7 separate regions of the Homo sapiens genome follow, and all the other regions are linked to region 1. The links are contacts of gene promoters, found by promoter capture Hi-C in blood cells and fetal thymus (Javierre and others, 2016). All regions are on one chromosome and are shown on one strand. The core of a region is centred on a gene start or on the middle of the fragment in contact, and the rest is flanking DNA. Distances in the headings are between cores, read along the strand shown.

Region 1 (3,065 bases), core at 362-2,861:
CAATTAAGATCCCTAGGTGATTCATATGCACATTAAAGTGTGAGAAACACTGGTACAGAGAATGGAGTAGAGGTGAGAAAGAGTAGAAGAGGGGAAGTCAGTTAGAGAGCTACATTCTGGTCCAAGTGAAGGAAAACAGTGGCCTGCATAAGAGTGACAGCAGGAAGGATGAGAAGACGGATTCTAGGTCACGTTTTGCAGACAGTTTGTTTAGGTCTCCTAGCCAGCTAAATGGAAATCTCAGTAGACAGGCAGTGATACAAGCCTGGGTTTCTGAAAAAAGTTTAGGCTTGGAGATGTAGATCTGTGGGTCTGTTATTAATAGTTGTCCTGCTTCGGGTTTTTATTTTTTTTTAATTTTCTTCCTTTTTTAGTGCTTTATATTTTACAAATGTCTGCAGCAGTTTTTTGTCATCTTTATGGAAAACAAGGCACGTCTTAAAGTCGTTCAAGTCCTTCACTTTTTCACACTGAGGTCTGTCTTCATATCCACTTATCTTTCAAGTCTATGAAACCCCTTATAAAAACTTTCCTTTGAAATATTTTAAAATTCAAGGCCCACGGCTGATTAATACTGTTTCTCCTCCATAACCCCTAGGATCCTCCAGTTCTGGGTTTTAACAAGAAAAATATCCTCAATCCTCTCTAGTTTCTAGGTGTAAAGCAGCTTGGACCCTCCTGGGTTTGGTGGGTCCATCTCTCTTGGAGTCCAACTCTGTATTCCTAAAAAGCAATTATTGAAATAGAAGCTAGTCAGTTAATGGCAATAAAAGAAGGGAATTCCAAGTGGGAGCTTCCCAAGCCAAGAGGAAGAGAGGTTTCTTGCCTTATCACTGTAAGTGGCAGAGTGGAGTTCCAATTCAATGATATCATTTGTGTTATCAAAGGTAGTTTAATCGTTGAAAAGCTTGTTAACAATTATAAACACAGGCAAATGCCTTTTCCTTTTTGGCCTTACGGAGAATGAGAAAAGTTCTTCCCATGGCTAAAATTCTTAGCTGTTGGTAATGCAGAAAAGAGTACCAGAACAGCAGAATTCCAACGGTATTCCAGGATTCTGTGTCTTGGTTAATTTTAAATTCACGTGACCTGGCAAACTTAGGAGAGTCCTGGTTGTAAGAGGTATTAACATTTTCAGCAGTAGTACTCTAGCTACACTTGACTGTTCCCCTCTCTGTGAATTTACATGATATGTTTGAAATACTGCCCCTCAAAAGTCTCAGAACTTTGAGAAATACGGTCCTTTCCAAAAAAACCCCTTATGTCCAATTTGAAGGGGTCGCTGTCAGTGGGTGCTTAAGTGGGTAAAGAAAAGCCAAGAATATGTCAGGGTGAGGAAGGCCAAGGCTGAGCGAGGTCAGCTTGGGACCCACCTCCTAGAATGACCTCCGCCAGCAGGAAAAAACCGTTAAGGGGAGGAAAGGGCAGGTCCCTGCGGCCTCCAGGTGCCAGCCGCGTGAGTGGGCGGAGAGGCCTCGGTGCCTCCTACCCGCTCCGGACGTGCGTCCCGGCATCACCCCGGGATCCGCTCCTCCCCGCTGGCGGGGGGAGAAAGGGCAGGAGGCCTTCCGTCCCGGCTATAAAGGGCCCCGGACCGCCGCGGCTCGCCTCGGCTTGCCTCGACACGCCTAGGCGCCCTCCGGCTCCGCCCTAGCCGCCGCGTCCCAGCTAGAGCTCCAGCGCCCGCTCAGGCCCCACTCGACCTCTCGGGCCTCGGCTACTTGGACTGCGGCGGAATATGGCGGCTCCGATGACTCCCGCGGCTCGGCCCGAGGACTACGAGGCGGCGCTCAATGCCGCCCTGGCTGACGTGCCCGAACTGGCCAGACTCCTGGAGATCGACCCGTACTTGAAGCCCTACGCCGTGGACTTCCAGCGCAGGTACCGCCGGAATCCCACCACCCCCACTTAGACAGGCAGCCCGCCTCCCAGGAGCCGTCTCGGGACACGGGCCGCCCCTCGGCCCTCGCGCGCCAACCCCGCCCCAGGCGGGGAGGAACCTGAGTGGGCGGGGCTCGGGGTGACTCGGGTAACCGGGTTCTGTGGCTTCCGTAGTGGCAGGTTTGACAGCGCTGGTGCCCGGAGCGGGCGCTGAAGAAACTTCTTTCCTCATCCCCTTTCCCCTCTGTTCTAATCAGCGGTCTTGCGCCATAGGGTACGTGCTGTGGCTCCAACACTTATTCCCCAGAGTGCTGCTGGGGAGTGACTCACCGCCGCTGCAGGTTTTCTGACTTTGGCACCCACTAGCGTGGGCCTGTGGAGTAACGTGGGCATAACTCCTGGCACGTGTAATTACGCATTTAAAACTTTCTAGTTTATTTCATAGCAAATGTTGTGATTTTATATCTAAGAGGATTCCTTCAGGCAGACACTATATCCTTTTGTTTTTTCCTTGCTAATATTCCTCATTTAGGGGAAGATTACACCTACATTGATCAATTTTTTCTCCCCTTGGATCAACATTGAGAAGTTAAATGTACATCAACATTTGTCCGTGTGTGACTTTAACCATCTTGAAGAGGGAGAAAGGTCAGGAAAGCAACTTTTACAGGCCAATGTCGTTTTAGCTTGTCTTCTACCATTGTGTACCATACAACTTTAGTTACTGGGCTAATAATTCTATTCATAAGTTCCACTAAAAAGGTACAGGTCTTTTTCTGTTGTCGTTGTTGTTTGAAGTAAAAGAGCTATTATACAAGTTGTAATAGTTATACTTGTGAGGTTACCCCATTTTGATTTAATAGTTTCTCCCCTTTTAGGAGAGACACTGCAGAATGGAAACTATCCTGGCAACAGAATATACATGGCCAATTTTTCGAGTGATGGAAAACATCCAACTAGTTAACTGGCATGAAGGAGCGTTGAGAGTAATGAAAATGGGTTGATTTGGAGTTTGAAAAAAGCCCAGCAAATTGTTTGTGTCCTAGCATTTTCAGGTATTAAATGCATTCAAATCAGCAAGTGTTTATTGAGGAACTCCTATAAATAAAACACTGCTCTAGGGATTGTAAGGGATGTGAAGTTTCATTCTTGAGCTTGTATATAGTAGTGAATGAGGCCTCTGT
Region 2 (3,259 bases), core at 696-3,195, 190 kb before region 1:
GAATAATTATCGTATCAGTCATGATTATGTAGCACATTGCAGAAGTACAGTATCGCACAACCATTTATGATTTTCATTAATCATTATAATTACCGCATTGCACTGAAATGCCTCAGCTGCTTGCCATGGATAGTGCTGCAGTCAGCTCTGTCTGTCCTCCACCCCACTTTGATTCTGGTGAACTCTCAAGTTTCTTAAACTTACAGCCTTCACTTAACAGCATAACCTGTGCTGTCTTGTAAATGTAATCACTTGCATAGTCTTAAGTTAACTTAAATTTCTTAGGCCTCTGCTTTGAGTCCCAATATAGTACTTTTCTTGGCCAAGTCAGTACATTATTCTTGGATTTGTGAATAATGTGGCTTTTTAAGAAAAAGATTGAGACAGCAAGGTAAATATGTGTAACAGGATCTGTGGAATTATGGTTACTTTAGGTGATTATTTTATCTTTTTAACCACTGATCTGCAAGAGAGAAAAATGTTTTAAAATTTTTTGAAATTGGACTAGTTTTTAGTAATTCTCTGTTTGAAGAGATACTGACCTGCATGACATCAAATATGAAGGGGATAATTTAGCTAGTTAAGCATTCAGTGAGGATTCAACTGGGTCAGAGCAATATCTTCTTTCATGTAGGAAAGTACTTCAAATTTTGTAACAAGTGAGGATAGGAATGTGGTCTAGTAAATTTATAATTTCTTCATTCAGTATTTCTCTAAATGAGAGAACACATAAGGCTTTTACATTCCCTGTGCTTTTACTGAAGGTATAAATCCCTCACTCTCTCTCTCTCTCTCTCTCTCTGTGTGTGTGTGTGTGTGTGTGTGTGTTTATGTACACAGCAAACATTCTAGCCGGGTGCGGTGGCTCACACCTGTAATCCCAGCACTTTGGGAGGCCAAGGCAGGTGGATCACTTGAGGTCAGGAATTTGAGACCAGCCTGGCCAACATGGTGAAACCCCATCTCTACCAAAACTATAAAAATCAGCTGGGTGTGGTGGCGGGTGCCTGTAATCCCAGCTACTCAGGAGACTGAGGCAGGAGAATCAATGAAACCCAGGAGGTGGAGGTTGCAGTGAGCCGAGATCACGCCATTGCACTCCAGCCTGGGTAACAAGAGCAAAACTCCGTCTCAAAAAAAAAAAAAAATCGATTTTTTCAACTCAGGAAGCAATAGTAATGAGACATTTCTGAATGCCCCTGCACTCAACACAAATTTTATGATGAAAAAAATGTAACACAGTCATATGACACAATATTTCCCCTATTTTACAGACTGTATGAATGTGTGTGTATCTGTTCTCTCTCTTTTTAAATAATTTTTTTCTGTAAGTTTTCCAAGACATTAAAGTACTACTAAAGAATTTTAACCCTCTTTTAATACAAGAATTTGGCAACAAAATGGTCCCATAAATATGAATGACTTTTTAAACACTAATGTTTGAAGCTTTTAAAATAGAATTCTGGAGTGTGATGTTTCATAAGGATCACACAAAATCCTATAGAGAGCAATATGACTTTGAGTGGGGAAAGAGGGATGTACCACATATGGCTTACAAATTGCTTCATCGGATTCTTCACATTTGCAAAAGTCAACAACAGCAATTCCGATTGGCTCAACAAGTTTAGGCAATTACCTTACAGATGCAATAACAGTGCGGAAAGTTCAGCTCAGTTTCTGCAAGCGCTAGTCCAAATGAGAATTGCGAGCAAAGCAGTGAGTAGTGATTTCTCCCCCAAGTTCTTAATGCTCCAGGCAAGAGTTTCAATCCAAAGGGCTGTTGAGAAAACGGACAAATACTGAGCAATGGGTAGTGATTGCAGTGCAGGCTGCTGCAGGCACTGGTAGAGAGGAAATAACACTTATCAGAAGCAAAAATAAAAGATGACGGAATAATAAAAGTAAGACTATTGGTGAAAAATAATATTTTTGTAAAATGATAAATGCAGAGAACAATATGTTCTCTCGAGACATAAAAACTTTTATAAAGAAGTCATCTAATCTTTAGAGGGCTAGAAGTGTTAATAATGCACTTGGGGATGTTTAAGTTATTGTTACTGGTTTGCTGATAATGCTGTTTTTCGCTTCAAAATGGCTTCTGGGTAAGTAACAATCTTCCATTTAAAATCTGTCTGCCCTGCTGACACTCTCTGATCATATTGCTTACTCAGACCAGGTGTTTCATGAAACCAGCTTTAAGTGCCAATAATGAAGCACCTTAGAGGGTCTATGTCTCAGCACAGATGTATGTAGTTTTGAAGTCTGAAATCTCCGGTGTCCTCAAATTTGGAAATTTAAAGCAAAGAGCAAATAGTTTTCTTGTGTAATGTTAATGCCTTTCTCTTCTTCTTTAGAAAATACGTGGGCTTCATGTGTTAGAAATGGATGTTATTTTCCCTGCATTATGGCACTGTACGAAAAGATCTGTGAGGCAGAGAAGCTTTTATTCTCATTATACAGTATATGTGGAAGCACTAAGAAATATGAAATCCTTCACTGGGGCAGAGTAAAAGATTTTCATTTCAGCTGGAGAGGAAATGTGCCAAAGTGGCTGAAAATAATTCAAGTAATTGGCAAAGAGCTGTACTCTAAGGAGGCTTTTGGTGTAATTTGATTTTGTGCCTTTTAGGGGAGCAAGTGAGATATGAGTCTATCTGCCCCTGAGGGCCAAGAGATTTTTTAACATTATGGGATCCTTAAGGTAGATGACGATGAATCACAGTGTCAAAAAGACAATCTAGACTTGTGATATCCTTAAGAAATAATAATAATAATAAGGATAACGCTCAACGGAGTTAGAGAATGTCCCTTATGGTGTGTAGTTTGTGCTCTGCCAAAACACTGAGAAAACAATCTTACTTAAAAGCTAGATGCTCCTCTGCCTACAAATTTAGCATAGGATTATTGTTAAATGCCATAAATGCTGCCAATAATAAAGGATGAAAATAACCAACTGGGTCAGAATTAGTTTTGTATTGACGGGCACCCACAGCATCACCAAGTCAGAGAAACTTGCAAAGCAGCCAAGTTTGTTTTGGCCAACTCCCTCTTAAGTCCCTATCAACTTCCCCTCTCCTTATGGCCTCTTCGCAGATCTTGGATCTTCTTCAAACAGAGGCTTAGATCTCTATTCATTTTCAGTTTATTCCTCTCATAGTGCAAAGAAAAAGGCAGCTTTACGTGTTACTTTATTTTGGAAGACGCCATTTCCTTCAAAGTAATTTCAGCAGTGAAACTTTAAGCATAATTCCAAAATATA
Region 3 (3,146 bases), core at 610-3,109, 170 kb after region 1:
ATATTTAGAATTCCCTTTAGTATGATTTCACTTTTTGCCATATAATTTAGCTAAAATTAAATTAAATCTTTAAAGTGCTTTGTTTTTCTCATGCGTGTGCATTTGTCAAACAAAATTGATTTGCAGAATTGTCTGAACTCTGAATGTTGACATGTAGTACTTTTCTAAGTCAGTATATTTGCTGATGCTTATGTTATTAAACTGCTACAATAACAAAATTCATATAAACAAACTAATTGGTGAATGTATTTGTGCAGAGTTAAGACTTGCTTGTTAACATAATATATCCGTATTGATTTTCTTTTTCTAAGGTCAAGGTTTCTCAGGTGATTACAGTGAATATTTCGGACTACAAGTAGATGAAGATGCCTTGACTTACCTCATGTTGGCAAATCATTTGGTTCACACGCTGTGTCCCGATTCTATAACAATAGCTGAGGTAAAGCCATAGTGAAGTCTTACCTTCTGACCCCCTTTAATAGAGAGTATTTTGTCAGCATACAGTATTTGATTAATCAATCTCATGTTGTCAATAATTGCGTAAATGAAATTCTACCCTGAGTATAGTGCAGCTATCTTGTATGGGTGGCACATTATTTAGAATTCACTGTTTCCCTATTAGAAGATAATGTATACTAATTACTTGTCACCATTCTGTTGTTAAAAAAGAAAATGCCAGTGGTTGGAGAGTTAAATGTCCTAATCAGTGGACAGGCCCTTCGCTATGAGACCTTCAGCAGAGAAAAGAATTGAATATTAATGTGTGTCTGTCCATTTATTATTATTTTTTTCTTTTTTGGCTCAATCATTAAAGATAGGATGGATTGCTGCCTGCAAGCTTCTCTGAAGCCTTTCTTGTTCTGATGTGATTACCTTTCTTGTTTATGTTATTGCTCTCAGATTGCCAAATGTTCACTAGTTATTCATGATTGTTGAAGGTTCATGATTAACTGTCCCAAAGCTGCACTGTAATGATATAATTCCATATATGCATAATTGACAATTCCCCTCTTGGTGATAAATGTGATAAATTAAGAAGTTTGTTAAATGCTTATGCTAATTTAGATTTAGTGCTAAAATCCCTCTGGTTTTCTAAGTTCTCTAACTAGGAATTATTATTAAAATTGAATTTAGCATGTTAAAACTGTTCTATACAAAGTATAGTGGTTGAGATATAAAAATAGTAAGACTACTGTTAAAAATAGTTAGAATTAAGGTGTGTTTTTACATTGTTGGTGTTTAGCTTATTGGCATGAAATGGAATAGTCTCCTTCCTGTAGTATTTATTTTTTGTATAGACTGTTTTTATATCCACCATTTCTCAAAATCAGAAATCTCCAATTTTATAAATGGTATGATTTCACCGCTTGGATAGAGGAGAATAGTTTTATTCCCTTCAGGCATTTTACTTTTTAAGTATTTTCTGGGAATAAAGCAGTAGCCCTAAATTCCTGAAATTCGTTCTTATATACAATTAAAAAACAAACAACCTACCATACAATTTAGACACCCAGTATTTTTTCACAGTCATGACCTACCTACGTTTGATCATAGCACATCTTACTAATACTTGTGCTAATATTTTTTGTGCTGAATATCTTTAACATCAATCAGAGTGTATTTTAAACTTTTGCCTTATGTATATTTGAATTTTATATGTCAAACATCAAAAAATTAATTATTTTGTCAATGATATTTATGGCAATCCAAAGCAGAGATATTACAAATGACAAATTACTACAAACAATTAATGACAGCACAAATCAAAAGTGAGTACTGAAGAAAAAGAAGCAATGATTTAATACATGAAAGTTAAAATTGTTACATTGATCTTTCCATTCATTTCAAGTAAAATAGTTTCATCATCTAGGGAGCTCTGGTCTGATTATCAGTGTTTCTACCAATGAAACTTTGAGACTTTAGCCTACTTTATATTACTTGGTTTTAGATTTTTTTTTTTTTTAAAAAAAGATGTGCCTTCAATTTATTCCACTTAAATTGAAAACTACTTCAATTTCAATACGTCACTTTTCTGTCTAGCGGGAGTCTCTTCCAAATGTAGAATTGATCCCCATGAACTTTTTTTTTTTTAAGAAAAGGAATGTATTTGAACGAATAAGCAATGTAATTTTATTTAAATTCCTTTAGTAGAAATATGAATTTATTTATAATGACAATTACAAAAATTGCAACCTTATTTTGCTCAAGTTTATCTACCATTTTACATTATTATATTTGCTATATTAATTAAAACATTTTTGATTGATGTATCTTTCCCTCTGGAATGGTTATAAGTGCTCTTTAGATAGTAAAAAATTAGAACTATTTTAATTTCATCCCAAACACAGAATCATTTTCATATGCCATATGAATAGGCATCAATTGTTTTATATTTAGAGTATGTTTATTTTGATGACCTTTATGATTTACCTTTTTTTTCTTAAAAATTTTAAAAGAACAGTCACAAACTTTCCACCTTCAAAAGGAGGGCTGAAACAACTCATATGCATTAATGAGGCAACTTTCTAGAAGTCAGATTTAGGAGTCAAGACTATATGATTGTTACCAAATCACCAGGGGTTTAGTCTAGGTCCTGCTGCTTGCTGCACAGAAAGCCAATCACGGAGACAATGATTATTGCCGTAGAAGAAGGCTTTGATCAGTCTCAAATCCATCTCTCTTACCAACTAAAATTAGAGGTTTATATAGTAAGAAATAAATGTAACAATGTGTAAGAAAACAGAACTAGAGAGGGGTAAGGAAGCAATCATGAGGAATGACCGGTCTGGCATCTCATTGCATGCCATGATTTGGTGAGCTTCAGTTCTTTGATACTTTTTTTTGAGAAGACTTGAGGGACAAATGTAGGTTTCAAGCTTTTCAAAAGGATTCAATTCTATGTTTATCCAAAAAAATATGTCTATGGGATGTTTGGGTTTCATGATTACCATATGTTTTTCTTAGCAGATTCTATTTCCTAAAACAACATTGGGACTGGATACAGAACATGCCTTAATATTTTCTTGAGAAAATTCATCTTGATCTTTAATACCAGTCCATCACCAGTCATTCTTGACAGTTTGGTCTTTCAAAACTCTTTTCAGAAGGCATTGTGTCTGTAATTCTAGTTCCTAATATGGTGCCTG
Region 4 (2,951 bases), core at 5-2,504, 240 kb before region 1:
GTGACTACAAAAACCAATTTATGATTCAAATACATGTTTAAGTAAGCCTGTTTTGATTTAGCTAACAAAACCAAATTGTATAAATCACTTATCTCCTCCAATAATTACTATTTTCATTTCTGCAATAAAATACTGAGAAATTCAACTTACTATTTTCAAGTTCTACATTCTATTTGACTATGATTTTGAGTAAACATTTAATTCTTTTTAATCAAGTTGCTACATTAGGAGAGCTGGTACATTTTAAATTAAGCAATATTACTGTAAGTTACCTGAAGGAAAAAAAAATATGTAACGGATATATTTGAAAAGGAAAAACAAAACTGACTCATGGCAGAATCCATTTTGTAATAGTTCTAAACCCTGATATTCACAAATGTGAGTGTAGGTTAATAACTGCTCTTTATTCATCAAATGTTTTGTCTATGCATGTTTTGTTAAAGGAGCAATTATCTATTCAGAGTTCTAACAGAGATCTGGAAAACTGCTTGCCTGAAAGAGCAAAATTGGTCTTACGTGACTTCAGATATATCATGATATAATAGACATACTGCAATAATGACACACAGACACTCAACTATGGAACTGATGATATTTTAAGATTCCTCATAGAAACTGAGTACAAATAGAGACAGATAATCACAATCTGAATTAATTTTATTACAATTAAATCTGTTGTAAAATTAGTAAAAGAAAATCTCCTACTGAATGCAAAGAGAATCAAGGTCATCTGAGGTGATACATTTCTGCAGACAACCAGGAGTGAGTCTATTTTCTCCTTCCTCTCACACACATCGTGCTTTGGCTGTGGGGTAATTCATGAAAGGAGAAAACAAGTACAGAATTTCATAGTGAAATAAGATTTTCTCTTTCAATCGTGAAATTATAATTGGCCAATTGCTGGCAGCTGCCTTTAGAATTTGTGTTTTCCAAATGTTAATAGGCCTCAAGTTAGCAGTAAATGTGAACACTAAATGGAAATCCTTTGTTTTCTTTTGTTTTATTAGGGCACAAATAGAATCCTTGCTTTTATGGTTTATTCTTGTCATTTGCCAAACTAAAAGACTATGCCATACATTATACCATAAGCAATCTTCTACTAAATAGTCTTTAAACTACTCAGTTCATGATTATTTCAAATATCAAAAGCCAGTTCTTGTAAAATGTGGAGTTTCATCAAAAAGACAATATTATTTAAAACATGTATTTCCAGTATGTTTATTTTATTTGATATTCATTTTTTCTAGAAATCTGTATATCTATATATAGATATACAGATATACACATATACAGATCTATATAGCTATATATATATATATACACGATAGATAGATAGATGCCTGCATTACAGCCATTCCAAAGCACAGGCAGCAAAAAATCTACTATATTTATATATTTTTAATGTAGAGATTATTTTCATAATTGGAGCCAGGATGTAATTATTTTTTCCTAAGCCTTTCTCCAGTATTGGCTAAACTAGCATCATAAAATATTACTTCGACCATAACAAGCCACTCCAAAAAAGTCCTATTTGTTACAATAAAAACATTCATTTATAAAACAAAAATAAAATCACTTACTTAAAAACTTAAAAAGAGAACTTCATAAGGGACATCCCCCATATTTAAAATTATCATGACATTGCATTTATGGTCAGAATGAAAGCATAATGTAGAAATTAAATTAGGTTTCCTTTTTGAATTAACATCCCAATTTCTTCCTGGATTGGTTAACTGCATTTGTCACCATGGACACTTTCTTCACTATTCAGAATTTTCAACTGTATTTAAAACAGATCACATTCATTTCCTCTGCATCAATATACTAACTAGTCAATGGAAATCGAAACACAACCAAAATAGATACTTTATACTGCTGCCAAGAGGAGAGGGTTCAAAGCAGAGGTGTAATTAAAAGTATGACTAAGCAGATAGAATCACATTAAAGAGGCTTCTCACAAGACAGAAAAAAATTTGGAAAAAAGAAGCAAGTGCCCCCCTAAATATGATATTGCCATCTCTGCCTGAATCATTTGAGCACAAGAATCTCAGCTTTCTGGTACAGGCCCCAGTTGCTATAGAAACTTACAACTGGGAGCTAAATAAAGTAATTTCTATGCTAGTGTTGGTGTCTATAACTTCAGCACCTGATGCTAACCAAATTGTGCTCAATAAACAAATTTAAACTTTAAAAGCCTGCAATGTGATCACAATGCTTTCTATACAACTGATTAATCTCAACTGATCTTGGCTCAGAGCACAAGAACATAAGAAATCTCAGAAACAGAAAAAGACTACTTAAGGCAAATACGCCTGCATCCTTTGTTTTTCTTATCTGATTTCCTAGTTTATCCCCATATCTCTATCCTGTCTTAGTCTGAAAATAAAAAGTCAGCTAGCTCACTCCCTAACTCATCAATAATCCTGCTTTCACTGATCCCTTTTAGACAATTTATTCTATATTAAACCACTCCCTCTTGGCCTCCCCTTTTTCATTTATCCTACTCTAAACCTAAAGAACAAAGAGATCAGGCAGCTCAATAGATACTTATTTCTTAATCCTCCCAGCTGGGCCTATTATTGCTGCACATTTGATTTTAAGATTATTCACTATTTGGCAAGAAATCAAGAATCTGAAATAGCCCCTTGATGCCCGTTTGTGTGGGCATGTCAGGCCCTTGCCCATTATGTCACCAAGCAGTGTTTTTGGCTGTGGTAATGCTCTCTTATTAAGCGAAATGAGACCACAGGGCCTAAATATATGTTTGCATTCTTCCCCAGCATCACTTTAGAAAGGATATACTATATAAGCCCTTTGTTCTTCTCCAGTGGGCCCAGGCATTTCAGGTCAATGTCACTGTGAGAATTTAAAGTATGAAAAAAATCATCTGAATATATTACCTCATTAAAGCACATGAATACCATTGTCATAAGCACCAAACACAAATACAT
Region 5 (3,347 bases), core at 159-2,658, 190 kb after region 1:
TTTAAAAAAATACTGAACTAGCAGACTTAAATCAAGAAAACCAGCAACATTTCACTTCTGTAATGTAGCTCAGTGCTCCATATAACTGAAAACCTGTGTTGTCATTATAAAACATATTCCCCATGACATGAGATGTTAACACATAAGTTGAAATATCAGAAGAAATCTGGAATCAACTAAACCCATTGGTTTATTTGTTTGCTCATTCATTCCTTAATTCATTCAAATCAAACTCATTATTTCCATGTCTAATGTCTTCCCTCTTCAACGGAGAAAAGTAATAAAAGGAGGAAATAAGTAAAAAGGTATATGAGGAGCTGTGTGTGCAGATAACGCTATGGGACATGATGTAGGAAGTCAGACTCCTGGAATTCTGTCTCTTTTCCTATCCTTCCACCTTGAATTTACCTCCTTTTTCCCTCCATTTTATTTTTGTTTGTTTCAGAGTAATATGTTGCTTTTCCTGTTAAAGAAGACTTTAGATCCTGAGTGTATACTGTCTTGACTTTAAAAGCCTAATTCCTACTATTAAAAGCAATCATGTTATCATTATCTTTTATATAGGGCACTTGGTAGAAAATAAACATGGAGTTATTTTTCTACTTGCCAGCATGTATGGGGACACATTTACAGATATAATTATGTTTATGGTTTTTTAGGCTCTTTAGAAACCCATACCTTCTTTTATTCTAACTGAATTAAGAGAATTAAGAACTAGTGGTGTTCCAATTCAGGCTTTTAAAGACATACTGTATACACATGATCAATGAACTTATAGTGCAATGCCCACCCCTTTATGAAGGCCTATAACATCCTTTATGATCCAACTACTGCCTACCTTTCCACCCAGATATCTCTGCTTCCTACTTCTTGAGTACTAAGTTACAATTACACCAGTCTCCAATTTCATTTCCTGATACACAGGAAGTAAAAAGTAGGCAGGCGTTAAATTATAAAGATCATGCACTTTTTGAAAATACCTGTGGTAACTTTATGCAACTTTACTTTGTGTGAAATCCATCAACCTTCATCTTCTCCCTCTTAAGATTTGGGAATATCTTTCATGCTTGGAGATTCATAACATCTTGCTCACACTTATGAGAAACATCTGTAATTTTAGTACAACAATCATATCCTGAGAGCCAATAGATCAGTTATGAGTTCTGAATCTGTGTTGGCAATCAGGATACTTTGAACAAATGGTACAAATTCTTAATCCCATAGATTTCTGTAAAATATGTCAACTGCATGCCTTTAAGAATTTTTTTTTCTAATTTAACATTCTGTTTCTTAGGTTAATTAGAAGTTATCACTGTAAAAGAAACACCTAGTGACCGTATATTTTAGTCTGAAAATTAATATTGTCTTTGGCTTTATAAAAATAAGTAAGCAGGCCAGTCATGGTGGCTCACACCTGTAATCCCAGCACTTTGGGAGGCTGAGGTGGGTGGATTACCTGAGGTCAGGAGTTTGAGACCAGCCTGGCAAGTTAAATCCTATCTCTTCTAAAAATACAGAAAATTAGCCAGGTGTAGTGGCAGGCACCTGTAATCCCAGCTACTCGGGAGGCTGAGGCAGAGAATCTCTTGAACCTGGGAGGTGGAGGTTGCAGTGAGCTAAGATCACACCATTACACTCCGGCCTGGGCAACAAGAGCAAAATCTTGAAATTAAAAAAATAAAATAAAATAAGTAAGCAAAGAAAAGTGGCAATTATTTTCTTTATTAGAAATCAATGTTTGAAACAGTTTTTCAGTTAAGTGTTTACTAATGTGTTGTATTTGTGTGATAGATACTCCGTCTGCTCTCTCATAGCTGTGGTCGTGACTGCTAGTTTTCTCCATTAACACTTTTCCTCCAAATTTTAACTGGGTACATGGATGGCCAGAATAACAAGCACATTCCCCAGGTTCTTTGGAAGCCTGCTGAGGTCATGTGACCAGCAGTTATGGCCAGAAGGATGTTAATGGTAGTGCTGTATAAGCAACTCACAGGTCAAGCTCTTAAATGGCAAGGGCATGAACATCTCTGACCCCTTGCCACATCTTCTACTCACTGGTGGAATGCCATATCATGTAAATGGCAGAACAACAAGGTCAAAAAATATTAGTTGGCCTTTACATATTGCTATGTATTACTGCTATAAGAGAAATCTTTTTAAATGGCATATTTCACAGTTTACATGTCCTGTAACATTTTTTATCTTAGCATTGAAACCAAAGTAAAATTTAATTCCTAATGTCCTACATTTAAATTAGTTTTTTTAATTCCCCTATTGTTTACCCTTATTAGTGCTAATGTCAGTAATAACTAAAAACATTAAAAAATTAGTTTTCAAATGTAATTTGGACATTTGGGAAAAATTAAATTTTTATCATATAAATATAAATGTTCCATAAAACAGTTGTGTCACTAGTGAATTGAAGTAAGATGTTAAGTATAGCTCCTTTCTAATATTGGTCACATGTAATTTGGTATTTTTTTTAGATCTTTAAAATGTCAATTCATATTTTGGGGGGGTGGTAGCTGGAATGTTTATGGCATTTTAATAGTCAATAGTTTCTCCTAGATAGCTCACAATCTGTGTATACATGTTATCTCTCCATTTAGCTCACAATCTGTGTATAAATGTTATCTCTCCATTTATATATGTATATATATACACACACATACATATATATGTCTTCACATATACTCACATGCACATATATATATATACACACACACACGTTCGTGTCTAACACAGATACAGACACACAATATTTTTTAAGTCTTTTTCCTCCCTTAAGTCAACCTTTTAAGAACAATCCTTAACGCATTTGGGAACTTTTGGAATGCTTGCTTTCATTCACTCATTCATTAACTCAGGTAGTTACTAAGTACACATTCCGTACTAGGAATTGTTTTAGTTACTCTACTAAATGCTTGACATGCAAAGTGGTCAGGATAAATATAGCCTCTTTCCTCAGGAAGCTTAATTTCTGTTAAGGGCAACAGAGAGAAATGGCAAAACAAAACAAAACAAATAAAAAACCTGCAAATGATAAGTGACACAAAGAAAACAAAAACATTGTTAAAATTGAGAACACAATTTTGGGAGGCTGAGGCCGGTGGATCACTTGATGTCAGAAGTTGGTGACCAGCCTGGCCAGCGTGATGAAACCCCGTCTCTACTAAAAATACAAAAATTAGCTGTGCATGGTGGCACGCACCTGTAGTCTCAGCTACTTGGGAGGCTGAGGCAGTAGAATCACTTGAACCCGGGAGGCAGAGGTTGCAGTGAGACCAGATCGTGCCACTGCACTCCAGCCTGGGTGCCAGAGCGAGACTCCATCTCAAAAAAAAAAA
Region 6 (2,948 bases), core at 334-2,833, 210 kb before region 1:
CAAAAAATATGTGTTAGTCAAATATTTACATTATTGGTAAGGCTTCTGGTCAACAGTACGTCATTAGTAAAGTTTTGGGGGAGTCAAAAGTTATATGTGAATTTTTGACTGCACAGGAGTCGGTACCCTTAACCCCCACATTGTTCAAAGATCAACGGCAGTTCTGTTTCAGCAGGAAAAAAAAATTCTCAAAATTCTAAACCAAAACATAGAGGATACATTTTACTTCTTGCCAAAAGAAGATACCCATTTTTTAAATTCTACAAAGGATTTCCCATACTCGAACTGTTGCCTGATCTCCCTTTAAAAAACCACCTTTGCAATGCTTAGCAGATATTAAGTATTATTAACTATTTACGGTAATATTTGCCTACCCCTGTAACTTTTACCATAAAATATAATATTATGAAATTCAACTAGCCTCATACATAAAGGTATTTAATTTTAGTTTGAAGGACTTATTTCATATAAACAATAGCATGGATTGAACATGCATCTACCTTCAATTGAGTTGCATGAATTAATTACAGAACGACTGCCTACTACTATTGAAGTCTCTAAAATATGCCTTATGAATCATTAGCAATTTTTTTCTAGTATTTGTGATTTTAGAATTACTTCTATCTCATTTCCTCCTATTCTTTAGCTCTGTAATTTTCTTACTCCTTGATGTAAGAGAACACTACTGTTACTCCTGAAGAGACCTAAAAGAGGAGAAAACACCAGAAACAATGACAAAGACTCTAAGAAGCTACTATGTTGGCTCTGTAAAAATAATCTTATTTTACTCAAATATTTTAGAGTTATATTTGTAACATTACCATTCCATGTACGTAGATTTCTTCCTTGAACTTCTATTTACTGAGGGCCTAGCAGGCAGAACACTGAGATGGACGGGCAGTTAGAGACAGTACAGTGACTCACTTAGGCCCATGCTTGGCACCCACATTTTAGCTAACTTCAGTTAACACCCTCCTCTCCCAACCTAATTCCAGTTTGAATTCAAGACTTAACTTATATTTTACCTTTTCCTTGAAAGCATGGCTCACCCTTCTCTACTCCCCTGTAATATTCTTTACAAAATCGTAGCATGCCACTTAAGATAGTTTCATCATCAACTGGTCCTGGACTAGTATCCCAGAAAATAAAAGCTCCTGGAGAATGGAGTAAGATATGCATCTTTTAATTCTTGGTCCCAAGCGCAGTGCCTGGCACAGAGTGGATACACAGCTCAAGTTTATGAACAGGCTAATTAATGAATGAGTTAGGAAGCTTCAATTACTAATAATATTATTATGATATACAAATATATAACAGAAACAGACATTAATGGATGTTGCTACTTTCTTTTAGTAACGTTCCATCTTTTCACAATTTTATTTTAAAAGGTTGTCCTAGGGCAGAAACTTCAGCATTTATCAACTTCATAACTGTAAAATCAATAACCAGTATTTTCAGAGCACTCATAAAAATGAGGTTAACAAAAGAGAAAAAAAAATAAGGATGGCCAGTCAGAAAAGAGAAACTGAAAGAAAACGAGTTCTGTTCTACCTCAGTTAATGGTAATATATGTCTCCAACGAATTCCCTTCCCTCTAAGCCAAGGCTCTCCTTTTGTCATTGTGATTACTAAGTGCATGATAGTCTCCTGGTTAACTGATGATTCTGACACAGCACACACACAAGCACTGTTAATCCTTTACTCCTAAAGCCTTCACCAGTGCACACAGTGAACAGTGAGGTTTGGTCACCTGGGAGCACTTCTAATTTCTTCTATTTCATATTCATATTCAATGTTAGAAGGATTTACTCCTATTGGGCATCCTCAACATGTTTCTAGATTGTCACTAAGTCGCCATTAGAAATATTACTAACTGTGAGAAACATTAAGCTTGGGATTCTATAGTTTTATAATTCTTAATCGAATGAATTTCCCCAAAATTAATCTAATAGGTCATTCCTAAGGAATTCATTATGCACCTATGTAAAGACAACTCTCTGAGTGTCTGAAAAGAAAGTAGAAAACATACTTTGTTACCTCAAGGAGTTTATATTCTTATTTTATAGTGTTTCTATGAGTTGTAAAATTGTAAATTGACTGCTTTTCTGAGATCAATCCATATTTACTCTCAATTAACACTACATCCTAGATGAGAACTAATGAAAGATAGATTTTATTTTCATGGAGTAGCCACTTATTTTTCCCTTTGTTTTACTCTCCTCTCTAATAATTCTCAATCTGCCTTGCAATTTATGTGCCAATGCTTGCTGCTTGACCTCAGCATCCGCTTTCCAAATGCTTCACCACGTGCCCTGATTCTGTGCGAGACAGTGAAAAATTCTGTCTGAGATGTAAGGGACGATCGGCAATTTAAAAATATATATTTTCCTGTGTTCTCACTTTCTTCTGAGAAGTCTTTCATTCTACTTCTGAGTGAGTTGATTGATTTCGAACTAGTTTAAACTCGAGGTCTGGAGCAACAAGCTGAGAAAAAATGATAGAGAGATATTTTTAAAGTGCATTGGTTTTATCTTCTGATTCATTCAATAGAAAAGCTCTTTTATGGATAAAAGTTCCTTTTTGTAAGCTGTAGTACTCTCAGTGAAGCATTACAAAAAAGAAGAAACTAGTGAAATGCTGACAGTTTAATACAATTAAGTGTAAAAGATGCAGTGAAGGTTGAACAGGAATGATTTGGGCTTTATTTGTGGTATTCTTTCTTTCTCTTCCTATGTGCGTATGTGCATGCATGTGTGTTTCCGAATTAGTTCAGTAAGTGAAGCAGTAAGCTTTAACTGTGAGTAGTGAGTGTATAACAGATAAATATAGACAAGTTTAAAAAGAAAATCTGACCTTCAATAAAGTTAACAAAAAGGCGAAGTTTTCTTCCCATTCCTGCAATTAGAATACCTCTCACTACTCTTAAGTAAAATTACAAGCTGGTAAAA
Region 7 (3,176 bases), core at 66-2,565, 250 kb after region 1:
GACATGCCCCTCTTCTTTTCATTTGAACTCCTAGAGGCTATTGTAGGGTTATTAATTGGGCTAAATTCTATATGGTCTTAGACAATACGGAGGCCCAAGAAAAGGGGAAGAGACAAGGGAACGGCCAGTAGGTTGGAGGAGTCAACACACACATTTATTAAGTTTGTGGTTGCATATGTGCATGATTTGTGGTGCCCCAAAACAATTACAATAGTAACAAGGATCACTGGTCACAGATCATCATCATAGACATAATGATAATGTAAAAATAATATAATTATGAATAGACAATCATATATTAATATATATTAATAATGAAAAAGTTTGAAATAATGCAAGAACTACCAAAATGTGACACAGAGACACAAAGTGAACACATGCTATTGGAAAATGGCACGAATACACTTGCTGGATGCAGCGTTGCTACAAATCTTCAATTTGTAAAAATGTGTATTTGTAAAGTGCAATAAAGTGCGATAAAATGAGCTATGCTGGTGCAGTAGTATCATTGGCCTGAAAGATTTCACATTGAGCCTTTCCTTTTAAAGTTAGGCTTTACTTAATTTATCCAAAATATATGTTTTTTTTTCTATTTAAAAAATAAATTGTATTAGTCATCTTTATACCTGATACCAGTGTGTTTTAAATAGAGCATTCTATGTCTAAACTAAATTTATGACATGGATGTTATATTACTTTTCCTTCTGGCCAGTAGAAATTACCTTTTTCAATGAGTATCTCCTGCCTGCCTACGTGAGATATTATTCGTGTTTCTGACATTTTCCGTGAAGCTCTTCTTAATCAGAATCTCACAGGATCAAACTGAGTGGTCAGTGTTTTATTTACATAAAAGTATTACCTGAGTATCCCAGATGATTTCTTAAAATTAAGATGTGATATAATTACTGGCTCGCTAAAATTACCTACGGGCTCCTAAGCATTTTTGAAAGCTGCAACCAAAAGAAGTTTCTGTTTCTCAGAGAAAGTTGGAAATATTAGAGCCAAAAACAGTGTGTTCTTGGAAGCAGTGGATTCAGTTGTAATCATGCATAAGAACCATCTCTAATTCTATTAATGTAGTTTCTGTTGGCCTAATGATGGGAAAATGCCTAATTAATTCCTATAAATAAGCATTAATTTACAAAATTAATTATGGTTATTTTTTGTAGTTATGTGGTATCAGCTGTTGAATAAGGAAAGTGTTTAGATAATATCAAATAAAATTATTTAATTAACATATAACTGAATGAAATGATTACACTCAGTACGTTTTATTGTCACACAATGATCATTTTATTTCAAGAACATTAATTAAAATGAAAAATTATTATGTTTGTATGTAAAATTATAAACATTACTGGGTTTTTTTTTCTCATGTGTTCTTTATTATTTAGAGAGAGAGCCAATTTTCACTTTGCCAGCCTCCCTATTAACATCTGTCCTTTTTGCCAGCTGAAGAAAACAAAGGAAAAACAATTTTCTCCTGTAGTAGCATTATTTTCTAATTCTGAAACATTATTTTCTTCAGTTTGTTCTCTACTTCTAACATTTTTATTTCCCATTGGCTCATGTAACAAAGGTCTCCAGAGGTAATAGGTATTTCTTGTTCTTATATTTGTAAACATAAAGAAATTTGCTCTCATTGCAAGGATAGTGGTTAGCTTGAGCTCTAGAATATTGACTATCTGAGGTTCAAGTTCCATCTCTGCCACTTAGTTTTGTTTTGAAAATAGCCTCTTTGTTTCTTGGTTATTATCTCTAGAACACCTATTCATAGAATTGTTGTCAGAATTAAATTAGTTCATGATTAGTTAACATGCATGCAAGGCTTAACAACAGTGTCGCCCACGTTTGAGCTTAGCAAGTAGTAAGGGTAATGGACATCCTTACTGTCATCATCTTCTAAAAATGCATTAGAAACTTTATAATAAAAATGAATTTTTATAAAAAAGAAAGACAAATAGGTACTAATCCTGTCTGTTGTCTTTTTTCTATTGTCCTACTTTTTGTTTTTTGTTTTTTTTTTGGGGGAACAAAACAATAAACACCTTTATTACATGGGTGAAGACAAAACGAGGATATATTTGCCTTTCCGGGCCTTGATTTTCCTAAGACAGAACTCCAACTCTTTGCCCTCTAGCACATAGTGTTTTGTTTTTTGATTTTTGTTTTTTCGCATGTCCTAGTTCCCATTTCACCACGACACAGTGATTCCTTTCAGTCCTTTCGCAGTACTGGAATTGAAACTCTTCTGTTCCCTGTTAAATCTCTTCCTCACTCTTGTACTATTTGCCCACCTTTCTTTCTTATTTCCCTTTCTCTGTATCCTGCAGCACTGTCTTGATTTCTTTTTCTTTCCACCTATTCTTCATGTTATCTTTTTTAAGATCTAAATCCATTTATTCATTTTTCTTGCACTTTTCCCTGAAAAATTCACCCACCCTTCAGCTATCAGCTCTATGAAGATGTTCCCTAATGATTCTCCCCACCTTGACCTATGCCCTATTCACCAAGCAGTGGGCAATTTTGTGATGTTTAATGACTGTTAGGCAAAACTGGGCAGCATGGAATTATAAATTTTTGAAACTGAAAAACTCTAGTATAACCTAGCTCAGCCCATTCAAATTAAACAAAATTACTTGGGTTAAGATATATATAAGCTTATTTTTTTTCAATTTTTATGAGAATTTAATTAGTCGTATGAATCATGTGTCTGAAATACAAGCTTATTTTAAGAGATCAAAATTAGTACCAAAAGTTAAATTTGCATGGCAATTTACAATATGCGAATACTTTTACTTACATTAACCCATCTTATCCTCACATCATCTCCAGTGATACTGGTTAGGCAAGCATTTTTTGTCCTCAATCTACATGTGAGGATCAGAAAGATTTATAATTTTCACAAGGTCGTATTTCTAGTCATTGAATAAATGTGATTTAAATCTAGTTTCTCTAAATTCAGTACAGTTTTACATTTGGTCACCAGATAATTCATCTTTTTGTTGCCCTCTAGAAATGCCATTGAAGTACATGAAGTGTGTCTCACTAATTTTGGTTTTTTTCTCTATTTATATTTGTAGAGGTTAATGATGCCTTTGACTAAATGTTTTTCTGCAGGGTAATACCATCCTGGTTTCTGACACTCAAAAGCACAGATGAATGTTAGTGGAAAA

The links. Contacts are between HindIII fragments. The CHiCAGO score rates a contact against its expected background, and 5 or more counts as called.
Region 2: a contact is called between a fragment that was not itself captured here and the fragment with the promoter of GBE1 in region 1, in 1 of 17 cell types (M0 macrophages). The highest score is 7.8, in M0 macrophages.
Region 3: a contact is called between a fragment that was not itself captured here and the fragment with the promoter of GBE1 in region 1, in 2 of 17 cell types (total CD4 T cells and non-activated CD4 T cells). The highest score is 5.9, in total CD4 T cells.
Region 4: a fragment that was not itself captured here is called in contact with the fragment with the promoter of GBE1 in region 1 in 2 of 17 cell types (M0 macrophages and monocytes); the score reaches 6.7 in M0 macrophages.
Region 5: a contact is called between a fragment that was not itself captured here and the fragment with the promoter of GBE1 in region 1, in 2 of 17 cell types (non-activated CD4 T cells and naive CD8 T cells). The highest score is 6.1, in non-activated CD4 T cells.
Region 6: a fragment that was not itself captured here is called in contact with the fragment with the promoter of GBE1 in region 1 in 1 of 17 cell types (monocytes); the score reaches 5.3 in monocytes.
Region 7: a fragment that was not itself captured here is called in contact with the fragment with the promoter of GBE1 in region 1 in 1 of 17 cell types (non-activated CD4 T cells); the score reaches 5.6 in non-activated CD4 T cells.

Annotation. Positions count from the first base shown.
Region 1 is chr3:81,760,191-81,763,255 of GRCh38, reverse strand. GBE1 (1,4-alpha-glucan branching enzyme 1) reads left to right here and starts at 1,611. Exons shown (of 16, transcript NM_000158.4): 1 at 1,611-1,881. The coding sequence starts at 1,739. RefSeq lists silencers at 1,383-1,482, 1,983-2,062 and enhancers at 1,138-1,746, 1,533-1,822, 2,163-2,332. The HindIII fragment of the contact is 5,689 bases long and covers 910-3,065 here.
Region 2 is chr3:81,951,638-81,954,896 of GRCh38, reverse strand. LOC105377179 (a long non-coding RNA gene) reads right to left here. Exons shown (of 4, transcript XR_940999.2): 4 at 1,633-1,777. Among named protein-coding and RNA genes, the nearest start is that of LINC02008, 33 kb to the left of the region's middle. The HindIII fragment of the contact is 994 bases long and covers 1,449-2,442 here.
Region 3 is chr3:81,588,330-81,591,475 of GRCh38, reverse strand. GBE1 (1,4-alpha-glucan branching enzyme 1) reads left to right here. Exons shown (of 16, transcript NM_000158.4): 9 at 312-439. Among named protein-coding and RNA genes, the nearest start is that of GBE1, 170 kb to the left of the region's middle. The HindIII fragment of the contact is 2,038 bases long and covers 841-2,878 here.
Region 4 is chr3:82,002,353-82,005,303 of GRCh38, reverse strand. The region is part of intron 1 of LINC02008 (long intergenic non-protein coding RNA 2008); the gene reads right to left. Among named protein-coding and RNA genes, the nearest start is that of LINC02008, 18 kb to the right of the region's middle. The HindIII fragment of the contact is 4,659 bases long and covers 1-2,951 here.
Region 5 is chr3:81,568,155-81,571,501 of GRCh38, reverse strand. All of the region lies in intron 12 of GBE1 (1,4-alpha-glucan branching enzyme 1), which reads left to right. Among named protein-coding and RNA genes, the nearest start is that of GBE1, 190 kb to the left of the region's middle. The HindIII fragment of the contact is 3,132 bases long and covers 1-2,974 here.
Region 6 is chr3:81,973,611-81,976,558 of GRCh38, reverse strand. All of the region lies in intron 2 of LOC124906199 (a long non-coding RNA gene), which reads left to right. Among named protein-coding and RNA genes, the nearest start is that of LINC02008, 11 kb to the left of the region's middle. The HindIII fragment of the contact is 618 bases long and covers 1,275-1,892 here.
Region 7 is chr3:81,512,419-81,515,594 of GRCh38, reverse strand. All of the region lies in intron 14 of GBE1 (1,4-alpha-glucan branching enzyme 1), which reads left to right. Among named protein-coding and RNA genes, the nearest start is that of GBE1, 250 kb to the left of the region's middle. The HindIII fragment of the contact is 2,694 bases long and covers 1-2,662 here.